Linked DNA regions of Homo sapiens: region 1 is linked to region 2. Evidence: promoter capture Hi-C in 16 types of primary human blood cells and fetal thymus (Javierre and others, 2016). All regions are on one chromosome and are shown on one strand. Each heading gives the region's core, a stretch centred on a gene start or on the middle of the fragment in contact. The rest is flanking DNA. Distances are from core to core; before and after follow the strand shown.

The links. Contacts are between HindIII fragments. The CHiCAGO score rates a contact against its expected background, and 5 or more counts as called.
Region 1: a contact is called between a fragment that was not itself captured here and the fragment with the promoter of CUEDC1 in region 2, in 1 of 17 cell types (neutrophils). The highest score is 6.0, in neutrophils.

The regions. Positions count from the first base shown.
Region 1 is chr17:57,839,423-57,845,582 of GRCh38, reverse strand. It overlaps MRPS23 (mitochondrial ribosomal protein S23), which reads left to right. Exons shown (of 5, transcript NM_016070.4): 3 at 4,323-4,400; 4 at 4,531-4,657; 5 at 5,648-6,160. The coding sequence ends at 5,800. Among named protein-coding and RNA genes, the nearest start is that of MRPS23, 7.5 kb to the left of the region's middle. The HindIII fragment of the contact is 7,205 bases long and covers 1,281-6,160 here.
Region 2 is chr17:57,953,299-57,958,857 of GRCh38, reverse strand. CUEDC1 (CUE domain containing 1) reads left to right here and starts at 3,446. Exons shown (of 11, transcript NM_001271875.2): 1 at 3,446-3,633. RefSeq lists a silencer at 3,522-3,591. The HindIII fragment of the contact is 9,939 bases long and covers 1,516-5,559 here.

The DNA.
Region 1 (6,160 bases), core at 3,634-6,133, 110 kb after region 2:
GAGTTTACTGACAAAGCCCCTCCCCTTGAATACTGATGTTAATTAGCTTTTAGTACCTTGAATTTGTCTAGTTCCTTTTTCTCTTAAATATTTATACCAATGAGTGTGCCTAATTGACTTTGATACACATCCCTTATTCTTACTGTTGTTTCAGGATGCTAGAAAATGGAATTTATAAGGTCATTATGTTCCGAATTGGGGCCCAGGCTTTCACCCCGGGACCCCCAACACCAACACTCATTTAAAGTAGCAGAACAAGTATGTTCTTGTTCTACTTGGATATTTTCGGCATACAACATGAGATCTTTGAGGAGATTAAATGCTTTTTCAGCACCTTTCTTCTCAGACCCATTGCATGCACTTTGTGGTTCATTGATACATTAAAATCATTTGTGCTTTGCTCTCACATGTAATCCTGGCACTTCAGGAGGCCGAGGCGGGTGGATCACTTGAGGTCAGGAGTTCGAAACCAGCCTGGGCAACATGGTGAAACCCCACCTCTGCTAAAAATGCAAAAATCAGCTGGGCGTGGTGGCATGCACCTGTAGTCCCAGCTAGTCTGGAGGCTGAGGTGGGAGGATCGCTTTAACCCAGGAGGCAGAGGTTGCAGTGAGCTGAGATTGCACCATTTCACTCCAGCCTGGGTGACAGAGTGAGACTCCGACTCAAAAATAAATAAATAAATAAAAAATTTAAAAAATCATTTGTGCTTCTGCTGTAGATTTGGACTGGATGATAAATGATTGGAGAATGTGGAATAGTTTACTTGTCCCTCTTGTTAAATATTACTTTTTTTTTTTTTTTTTTGAGATGGAGTCTTGCTCTCTCTCTCTCTCCCAGGCTGGAGTGCAGTGGTTCAATCTCAGCTCACTGCAGCCTCCACCTCCCGGGTTCAAGCATTTCTCCTTCTCAGCCTCCCGAGTAGCTGGGATTACAGGCATGTGTCACCACGGCGGGCTAATTTTTTTTTTTTTTTTTGTATTTTCAGGAAGACAGGGTTTCACCATGTTGGCCAGGCTGGTCTTGAACTTCTGACCTCCAGTGATTCACCTACCTTGGCCTCCCAAAGTGCTGGGATTACAGGCATGAGCCACCATGCCCAGCCTGTTAAATATTATTTCTTTAAATTCTTTTTTTATTTTTTAATTTTTTACTATTGTCAGAATATATAAAAATTATTTCTATTAACACCAAAATATTATCTTGTATTTATATAATTTATTGAACCTTTATCTTTGTGGCCCTCTTTTTTTTTGGTGGTTTTGATATTTAAAAAAGCTTATAGAGTGGTTGTGCATGCCTGTAGTTCCAGCTACTTGGGAGGCTGAGGAAGGAGGACCATTGGAGTCTAGGAGTTCAAGGTTGTAGTACACTATGATTGTATCTGTGAATAGCCACTGCACTCACAACAGCCTGGCAACATGGCAAGACCCCATCTCTTAAAAAAAAAAAAAAGAAAAAGGAACTTACAACAAAATAAATAAAACAAACAAAAAAGATGTATTAAAATCTAAGTGTAAAAAGTGAGATCATAACAGTACTGGAAGAAAACATGGGAGAATTAAAAAAATAATCTGAGTGATAAAGGTCTTTTTAAGCATGATATAAAACTCAGAAGCCATAAAAAGAAAATATTAAAATTTTCTGTATAAAAAAGTACTGTAAGCAAAATCAAAAGACAGCCAACAAACTGGGAAAGATCTTTGCAATGTTATGACAAAGGACTAATTTTCTATGTATATGGCTACAAAGTTTGCTTAGAAATCATTAAGAAAGAGACCACTGTGTAACGAATTACCATAGACCAGGTGGCTTATAAACAAATGAAATTTCTTTCTCATAGTTCTGGAGGCTAGGAAGTCTGAGATCAGGGTGCCAGCAGGGTCAGGTTCTGGGGAGGACTGTCTTCCTGATTCCTCACATTGAGGGGAGCAGAGAGTGGTAGCAAGCTCTCTTCTATCTCTTATAGGGGCACTAATCCCATCATGAGGGCTGATTACCATGACCTGATTACCTCCCAAAGCCTCCATCTCTAAATACCATCACAATGGGGATTAGGATTTCAACATAGTAATTTTGGTGGGACACGTTTAGTCCATAGCAACCACCAAATAGAAAAGCGGACAAAGAACTTGGACAGTTCACAGAAAAGGAAATTCAGTTTGCTTTTAAACTTGAAAAGATGTCCAGTCTCTTTAAAAAGAAAAGCAAATTAAAACTATAAAGAGTTCTGGTTTCTTACCTATTAGGTTGGCTAAGATCAAAAAGTTGGAGAACATGTGTGTGTGTGTTTGTGTATTTTTTTTTTTTTTTTGAGGCAGGATCTAACCCAGACTGGGATGCAGTGGTGCCTATCATGGCTTACTGCAGCCTTGACCTCCTGGACTCAAGTGATCCTCCCACCTCAGCCTCCTGAGTAGCTGGGACTACAGGTGTATGCCACCATTCCTGGCTAATTTTTAATTTTTTTTGTAGAGATGGTGTCCCACTATATTGCCCAGGCTGGTCTTGAACTCCTGGCCTCAAGTGATCCTCCTGCCTTGGCCTTCCAAAGTGCTGGGATTACAGGCATCAGCCAGCACGCCTGGTCTAAATATATATATATATTTTTGCTGGGATTACAGGTGTGAGCCACTGCACCTGCCTCGTGTGTGTGTGTGTGTGTGTGTGTGTGTGTGTGTGTGTGTGTGTATATATATATATTTTTTTTTTTTTTTTAGAGACAGGGTCTCAGGTCTCACCATGTTGCCCAAGCTGGTGGTGAGCTCCTGGCCTCAAAAGATCCTCATGCCTCAGCTTCCCAAGCAGGTGGGATTATATGCGTGAGCCTCTATGCTCAGCTGGAGAATGTCATTTGGTCAGGGTGTGGGGAGATAGGTGCTCGTATATTACCTATGTGAATGTAAATTGGTACAGCCACTTTGGAAAGCATTTTGGCAATTTGGAAGGCTTAATTACAAATGCACATACCTTGATCCAGTAGTACCACATTTGTGAATTTATGCCACAGACTTATTTACGTAGTGCACTAAAATTATAAATAGAGATAATGATTGCAGCATGGTTTAGAGTAGTAAAGGACTGGAAACAATCTCCATGGCACTGATAAGGCAAGATGTAGGGAGGAGAAATGGGGAGTGACTGCTCAGATACAGTGCCTCCTTTTGGGGGTGATGAAAATGTTTTGGAACTTGATAGAGGTGCTAGTTGCACAGCTTTGTGAGTTTTCTACATGTCACTTAATTGCACACTGAAAAATGTTAAATGTGGGCTGGGGACAATGGCTCATGCCTGTAAGCCCAGCATTTTTGGAAGCCAAGGTGGGAGGATCTCTTGAGGCTAGCAGTTCAAGACCAGCCTGGGCAACATAGTGAGACTGCATCTCTACAAAAATTTAAAACTTAGCCAGGCATGGTGGTGCTGCGAACCTGTAGTTCCAGCTACTCAGGATGCTGAGGCAAGAGGATTGCTTGAGCCCAGGAGTTTGAGGCTGCAGTGAGCTATGATCACAGCACTGCTACCTGCGTTGGTGACACAGTGAGACCCTGTCTCTTTGGAAAAAAAAAAAGTTAATTTTATGATGTGTGACTTTTACCTCAGTTTTTATTATTTATTTTTATTTTGTTATTATTTTTTGAGACGGAGTCTCATTCTGTTGCCCAGGTTGGAGTGCAATGGTGCGCTCTCCACTTACTGCAACCTCTGCCTCCTGGGTTCAAGTGATTCTCCCACCTAACCCTCCCAAGTAGCTGTGACTACAGGCATATGCCACCATGCCTGCTAATTTCTTTGTATTTTTAGTAGAGATGGGGTTTCACCATGCTGAACTCCCAGTTGCAAGTAATCTGCCTGCCTCAGCCTCCCAAAGTGCTGGGATTATAGGCATGAGCCACTGCGCCTAGCCATACCTCAGTTTTTAAAAAGGCAAGATGTAGAGCAAGGTTTACTATTCTTGGGGTTAAAAATGTGGCTGGGGACAGGGAATGATAGTGCATATATGCTAGTATATTAGTGGAATATTTCTGGATGGATATACAAGAAATTTGTTAGTGTTGCTTCCTGGGAAGGGAACTGGGGGGCTGGGGTGCAGAAGTGGGAGGGAGTGTTACTTTTCACTGGCCACCCTTTTGTGCTATTTGATGTATTTACCATGTGCATGTGTGCATTACTTATCTAAAAAAACAAAACTGTTCAGCTTAGGCTATGTGGGTTATACCGTACTTAACTCCTCAGTGCCTAGCACTTATTCTTTATTTCTTTTATTCCATTCTCATCCACAGTCTATAATCGGAGATTTATATTATGTTGTTTGCATTTTCTAGGAAGTTTTATTCAGTGTATGGGTCTGGTCAAAGAGCTTTTGATCTATTCAATCCAAACTTCAAGTCTACCTGTCAACGGTAAGCCATTTTATAAGTCCTAGGCTATTCATATTATTTTTTAAGGATTTTGTTATCCATTTGATATTGTGTAACAGCGTCTTAACAATGCTTACAAACATACCTAAAATGTGACTGCTTGGAATTACAGGTTTGTGGAGAAGTACACTGAGCTACAGAAACTTGGAGAAACAGATGAAGAGAAGTTATTTGTGGAAACAGGGAAGGCTTTATTGGCAGAAGGTGTCATTTTAAGACGAGTAGGCGAAGCAAGGACTGTGAGTATTTCATTGTTAAAATTGTTACTGGGTTTATAGTTGTCCCTCAGTATGCACAGGGGATTGGTGCTAGGGCCCCTGCAGATACCAATATTCACAGATGCTGAAATACCTTTTATAAAGTGCTGTGGTTTTTGCATATAACCTACACATATCCTCCCATATACTTTAATCATCTCTAAATCATTTATAATACATAACACATTGTAAATGCTATGTAAGTAGTTATACTCTATTTTTAAAAATTTATATTTTTTATTTTATTTATTTATTGTTAAAATATTTTTGATCCGTGGTTTGTTGAATCTGCATATGTGGAACCTGTAGATGCAGAGGGTTGACCAGAGTTGCCAATCTGATGGAAGTTAAAGAGAGACTTGGTTTTCTTTCCCTAACCTTGGCTTATGTTCTTAAACTCCAGGTCAAATACTGTTACACTGAATATACTAGAATTTTGTGGTAATGACTGCTACTTGAAACAAGTGAGTCGTCATTAGGGCTTTTGAAATTTGGTTCTATAGACTTTTTTTTTTTTTTTTGAGACGGAGTCTCGCTCTGTCACCCAGGCTGGAGTGCAGTGGCGCAGTCTTGGCTCACTGCAAGCTCTGCCTCCTAGGTTCATGCCATTCTCCTGCCTCAGCCTCCCGAGTAGCTGGGACCACAGGCGCCTGCCACCATGCTCAGCTAATTTTTTGTAGCTTTAGAAGAGACGGGGTTTCACCGTGTTAGCCAGGATGGTCTTGATCTCCTGACCTCGTGATCCGCCCGCCTCAGCCTCCCAAAGTGCTGGGATTACAGGCGTGAGCCACCACGCCCGGCCCTATAGACTTTTTAAAATCATGTTTACTATTTGTTATAGTAGAATTGGATCTAAGATATTAGTGCTAAATTTTTCACTCAGTGACAGAATGTGCCTAGTTATATATCTTTAGCGAATTAATTGAGTGAAAATGATAACATCTCTGTGATACTTAAATCTGGTCTTTTAAGCAACACGGAGGTAGTCACGTTTCCCGGAAATCCGAACACTTGAGTGTCAGACCACAGACTGCGTTGGAAGAAAACGAGACTCAGAAAGAAGTTCCACAGGACCAGCATTTGGAGGCACCTGCAGACCAGTCGAAAGGTCTCTTGCCTCCCTGAAGGACCTGTATACTGTGTATGCTGGCATTCACACTCTACTCACTGGCTGAATGTTGAGCTATTTTTAAACAGTTGAACTGTGTAAATGTTTCTTGATCTCTAAGGTATTATGTTTGCCTTCTCTTAGTTATTTCTGGGTTGTCACAAAGCTCAGTATCATGGTTTGACAGAAGCAGTTATGTGAACTTTTATGTTAGGACATTACTAAATAAAGAATTCCCTAGCTGCTTATAAAGTAAATTTACTTTGAATTGTAAATAACATGAAGAAACCTTTATAAAGATTGTTCAAATGGGACTCAATCTGACTAGGCTTGCTTTGATGTTTGTTAGTATGTGGGCTGGCTACATCTGATTCCCG
Region 2 (5,559 bases), core at 2,197-4,696:
TCGGGAGGCTGAGGCAGGAGAATCGCTTGAATCTGGGAGGTGGAGGTTGCAGTGAGCCAAGATCATGCCATTGCACTCCAGCCTGGGCAACAAGAGCGAAACTACGTCTCAAAAACAAAACAAAACAAAACAAACAGACAACAACCAAAAAAAAAAAAAAAAAAAATAGCCGGGTGCGGTGGCTCATGCCTGTAATTCCAGCACTTTGGTAGGCCATGGCGGGCGGAGGTCGGGAGTTTGAGACCAGCCTGGCCAACATGGTAAAACCTCATTTCTACTAAAAATAAAAAAATTAGCTGGGCATGGTGGCGTGCACCTGTAGTTCTAGCTACTCGGGAGGCTGAGTTGGAAGAATCGCTTGAACCTGGGAGGCAGAGGTTGCCGTGAGCCGAGATCGCGCCACTGTACTCCAAGCTGTACAACAAGAGCGAGACTCTGTCTTAAAAAAAAAAAAAAAAAAAAAAATATATATATATATATATATATATATATATATATATGCAGTCTGCAAGTGGAGCCATGAGGGGTTGGTACCTGCCCCACTCTATTCCCCCTGTGAGAACATCTGGAAAGAGGGGTTGGTTAGAAAGTTAGAGGACTCAGCCTTGGAGAAACCCCTGGGGCAGGCAGAGCTGAAGAAATGAGGGAATGGATAGAAAGACGCAGAGGCTAGGAAGCCATGAGGGTGGGAATGGTTTCAAGGAGGCGTTAGCAACATCCAGGGCTCCAATGGAGTGAAGGAATGGGATAGGGAGGAGGCCCATGGGTTGAAACAATGAGGAGCCTAAGGTTGCCTCCCTTGGAAAGGCATCTTCCCCTAGAAAGATGCCGGTGCCTCCCTGTAAAAATCACCTTCCCCTAGGATGAAGGGGAAGAAAGTCAGATTGTAGGAAGTTGAGGATTGAATAGGGCTTGAAGAAGCAGAGAGTGGGTCTGGTTGCTTCTTAGGGGAGGCCTACTGATGAATGCAGAAGAGAGAAACAGGGCAATGACTTGAGGGCAGGGCAGGGTTGGGGCCAGGTTCCCTTAGAAGGGGGTATCCTGAAGTGTTTGTAGTTTTGAAGCAGAGGGGAGGAGAAAGAAGAACTAACAGAGTTTCCTGAAGCACATAGGAGGTTGGGCTGGAAAGCAAAAGGGACATCTCTGGAAGAGCAGAGACAATAGGGCCTGAACCAGGCAGAAGTGGAGGAGTGAGGCGGTGAGAGAAGGAGAAATGAACAGGATCTGATAACCAGTGGAGGGCCAGGGAAGCTGCACAGGAGACAGAGGCTTCCAGCCTCTGAGCCAGAGGTGGATTCAGGAGAGTAGGAGGAGGTGGCTTAGGTAGGGAAGCGGTCTCAGTCGCCTTTAGCCTCCTTGAGTTTTAGGTGTCTGGGAGACTCACAGGTGGCCCTCTGTAGGCGGCTGGTGTGAGGGGCTGGAGCCCTGGGGGCTCAGAGGCAGTGGTGGGAGTGGGTGGAGGTGTCTGGGGGTGGGGAAGTTGTGAGAGGCAGGGAAGGGGTCTGAGAAAAAGCTTCCAGAAGGACAGACCCAAAAGGAGGAGTATGTTAGCAAAGCCCAAGAAAAGTGTGCTTCAAGGAAGAGTGTCCATTAGAGCAACTGGTTTTATTAATGACTATAATAATAATGTATTTAAAAATTTTACTAGCCGGGCGTGGTGGCACCCACCTGTAACCCCAGCTACTCAGGAGGCGTAGGCAGGAGAATTGCTTGAACCTGGGAGGCGGAGGTTGCAGTGAGTTGAGATCGTGCCACTGCACTCCAGCCTGGGTGACAGAGCGAAACTCCGTCTCAAAAAAAAAAAAATTATGAGCAATCCATAGGCGAGTGCAAATGGAAATCTCCAGGTTTGCAGATGCATTTTTCTGCTCCTGAAATGCCAAGGTGACAGGAATGAACTGCAGAGGGATCTTGCAAGTAAGCAGGAAAGTGACAAATGAACTGCACTATGGGTAAGTGTAAGGTAATACACTTGATAACATAATCTAGACTATATTGGCCAGGCGGACAAATCCTGAGCTCTCAGTTACAACCTGGGAAAGGAGCCAGGAGTCAGTATAGAGGCATGGGTCTGTCCCTTCGGATTAAGAATCTTTAACCTGGGGCCTGAAGACCATCTTCTGGGATTTCAAGCACCCTGCCTCCCCCGGAAATTGAATGCACCAGGGAGTGAAGTGTGGGGAGAGAGGAGCAGGAGAGAGGAGATCCTCAGAGGGGTTTGGAAACCCAGTCCTGGAGTTCCGTTCAACATGCTAACCTAACGTTGGGCCTCCCCGAGGAGGGTGTGGTTCTGAGGTTTCTCCCCCTCCCAGTTTCCCACCTTGCTGAAGAAACTTGCCCTTGACATGCAAATGATGGAAACACATTGGTGTCTGGGGCACTTTGGTTTGTGGTTTTTACCATCAGCTGTCTCTGAGGCTGAGCGTGTCGATCTGTCTCAGCAAGGCTAGCAAATTGCAAGCGCTCAGAGGAGGGGAGAGGGGGGCTATTCCTGGGGTTCTGGGCCCAGATGGGCAAATGGGTCTGTAAGGCAGACTTTTCCAGGAGGAGGGTGCAGACCCTTTGCAAGTTGTTTGGGGACAGAGCTTAGTTTGCATCTGGCCTTCTTCACCCTCCTCAGATCCCCTAGGTAGCAGGGTGCTTGGTGGTCACCACCTGACCTAGGCTACCTACTCCCAAATTGGAGTCTGAAATGAAAGCACGTGGGAAAAGTATAGCAAAGGTCAGTTTCCCATTTATTAAACAAGTTCTTCCGTGGAAAATCTTCCCAGGGCTCAGCAGCCCTTGAAGTGATCAGGGATGCTGGGGAGGTTGGGGGAGGAGAAAATGGGAGATGGCAGGTGGTATCTGTCGGTGTGGACGAGTGATAGCTTTGATTTGCTCCCCCTTCCCACCATCTCCTGTGTCCTCAGCATTTGATTTGGTTTCCTTTCCGGGGCCCTAATTCCAGGGAGGTGCCCCTCCTCCACACCTGTGTCCCAAGCCCCAGCTGTGCGTCCTCACCCTGGGTTCCTGGCACTGACCTGGAACCTGTCGGGCAGCCCTGCTCTTAGCTCCCCGCGGAGTCTCGGAGGTCTCAGGTCTCCTCCGCCCACCCTCTCCGCAGCTGGGAGGGGCAGGATGCCCCGCACCCCGCTCTGCGCGGGAGGTCGAGGCACCCCGCTCACGCCCTCCTGCCCGCAAGCTAGGGAGTCACTGCGGCCGGGGAGGGAGGTACACGGAGGGCATTTTTCCAGCCTTCACTGGGTGCTCCCCTCTCCACCCCCGGCAACCATGTAGGTTTCCGGACCCCCAGGTCCGCTTCCCTCCTCTCTGGAAAGGGGTCGGCCATAGGGAAAGGGCCCGGGGGCGCCGCAGCCGGGCCCCCGCCCCGCCCCGCCCGCAGCCCCGCTCCTCCCCGCGCGGCCCCACTTGTGGCCCTGCCGGCAGCCGCGCAGGGACAGCTGCATTTCTCGCCGCCCGCCGCTAGGAAGCCGGCCTCGCCTCACTTTCTCCGCCTCCCCGCGCCCCAGCCGCGCCGCCGCCGCCGAGCCTGGCCCCGCCGCCACCGCTGCGGATTGCAGCCCCTCCCCCGCCCGGCCCGCGGCCCGGCCCCTGCGGCCCGCGCGGAGCGGACGCGCGTGGCGCTGCCCGGTAAGACCCCCGCGCTCCCGCGGCTCCCGCCCGGCCCCGGGCGCGGTCCTCGCCGGCGCCCCGCGCGCAATCCCGGCCGCGGCCCCGGCCCAGCGGCCCCACCTTCTCGGGACCCGTTGCCCAGGCGCCGCCGGGAGGGCCGGGCCGTCGCGAGTTTGATTCCCGGGGCTGTCGGCGCGGCTCCCCGGGAGCTCCGCGTGCGGCAGGTCCCCGCCCGCCCTTCCTTCCCGAGCCCCCACCTCATCCCGGGCCCCGGGCGCGGGGGGCGTGCGGGCATCTGGGGGGCCGGGAGCGGGGCGCGCGATTAGACCGGGGGGCGCGGGCCAGCGCCGCAGGGAAGGGAGACGAGGCCTCCCGGAGCCGGCTTCGCCCGAGTCCCCTCTCCCGCCGCTCCCCCTTTTGTGTGGGCGCCCCTCCCCGCAGTGCCCGGGCCTGGGGGCGCAGGCTGGGCGGCGACGGCAGGCGGGGGCGCCTGCTGGGAGCCGAGCGCCTTTCAGGGGGAGGGGAGCTTCGCTTCCTGCCCCCCGCCGATGTCACAGGTCGGCTCAGCCTTTTTTGGTCCCTCCCGGTCCCCTGGGAGCTGTATCTCCCGTCAGCTCGGCCAGGGAAAGTTGGGAATGCGCTGTCCCCGCCCCTGCTCGCCCGCCCCGCCGGCTCCTGTGCCCCAGGCTCTGAGCTCCAAGGGGGGCTGGTGTCAGCGTTTATTCATTCCTCCCTCTTCCTTTTCTCGGTCGCGTGGTCGCCTTACACCCAGCACTGCCCTGCCCATTTCTTTTCCCCTTAAAAAAAGTTTTAGCTCTAAGAAACGTACACTGAAATTAAATTCCTGAGACGGAATGTGTTTTAAGGGGAGGGAGGGTTTAGATTTTCCTTTTTTTGGTGGAGTAGTGGAGTAGAAGATGAGGGGACTCCCTGGGAGTTTAGAAACAAGATGCCCTGGAGGCGATAGAGGATACAAGAAGACCATCCACCGTGCTCCCCACCTGATCCGCAGTCAGCGTCTTGTAGCGAGAGGAATGAGCCTTCCCTGGGTGATCCCGCAGCACCTGAGCCACCTGGCCCAGGAGAAAGGACTCAGGGAGATGTACTGGGCCTTTCACCCCTTTTCTTTATAGCCAGCTGTGCCTGAAGGAGGTGAGGGACCCCAGGAATTCTCTCACGGAGGAAGTCATCTCACCATGTGGTTGGGCCCCTGCTGGATCAAGTGTGAAGCTGGGTCCTCTCTGTTGTTGGGGGTCAGTGCCACTGGTACCTCAGTTTGAATATGGTGCCATCTCTGGGATGGAGAGGTGCTGCTGGGAGAAACCTGGCTCGGGTCTCCAGGAAGCTGGAGCGTGTGCAGCAGGGCTGGGTGTGAAACCCGCTGTCCACTTTCTGCAGCTGGAAGGGCCAGGACAAGGGAAACAGGATACTGCTACCGACCTGGGCACATCCTTGAATAGAAGAGAGACCCTGGACAGCGAGGATGGCCCAGGGATGTTGATATGACTAGGGCTGTATCCCCAGCTCCTGGGCCAGGCCAACTAGGGCCAGAGGTTGGAGTCATGGGCCCCTTTGAGAATCTGGTGAAAGCTCTAACTCCTCTCCTTCCAAAATGCATGTGTGTAGGGAGACACCTGTATTCAACACCAGACGGTTAATATACCCCCTTGGAACCAGGACCTCCATTGAGACCTCTGCCCTAGAGTTACTGGTCTGACCTGGGCCATCAGAACAGTTGTCACCTTTTTGGCTGGTCAGTGAATAATCCCAGGGTTCAAAGAGCAGACTGCTTCTAAGGTCTTTTCTCATGACCTCCCTATGCAACTTTGGGCTTGTGGCCATGGAGACCTGGAGTGTCTGGACAGATCCCAGCTCCCTACAGCTAGCTAGAGGATGGGGGCAGATGAGGTGGCCCTTTTCCAGGGGCTCATTTTGCTGTCTGTG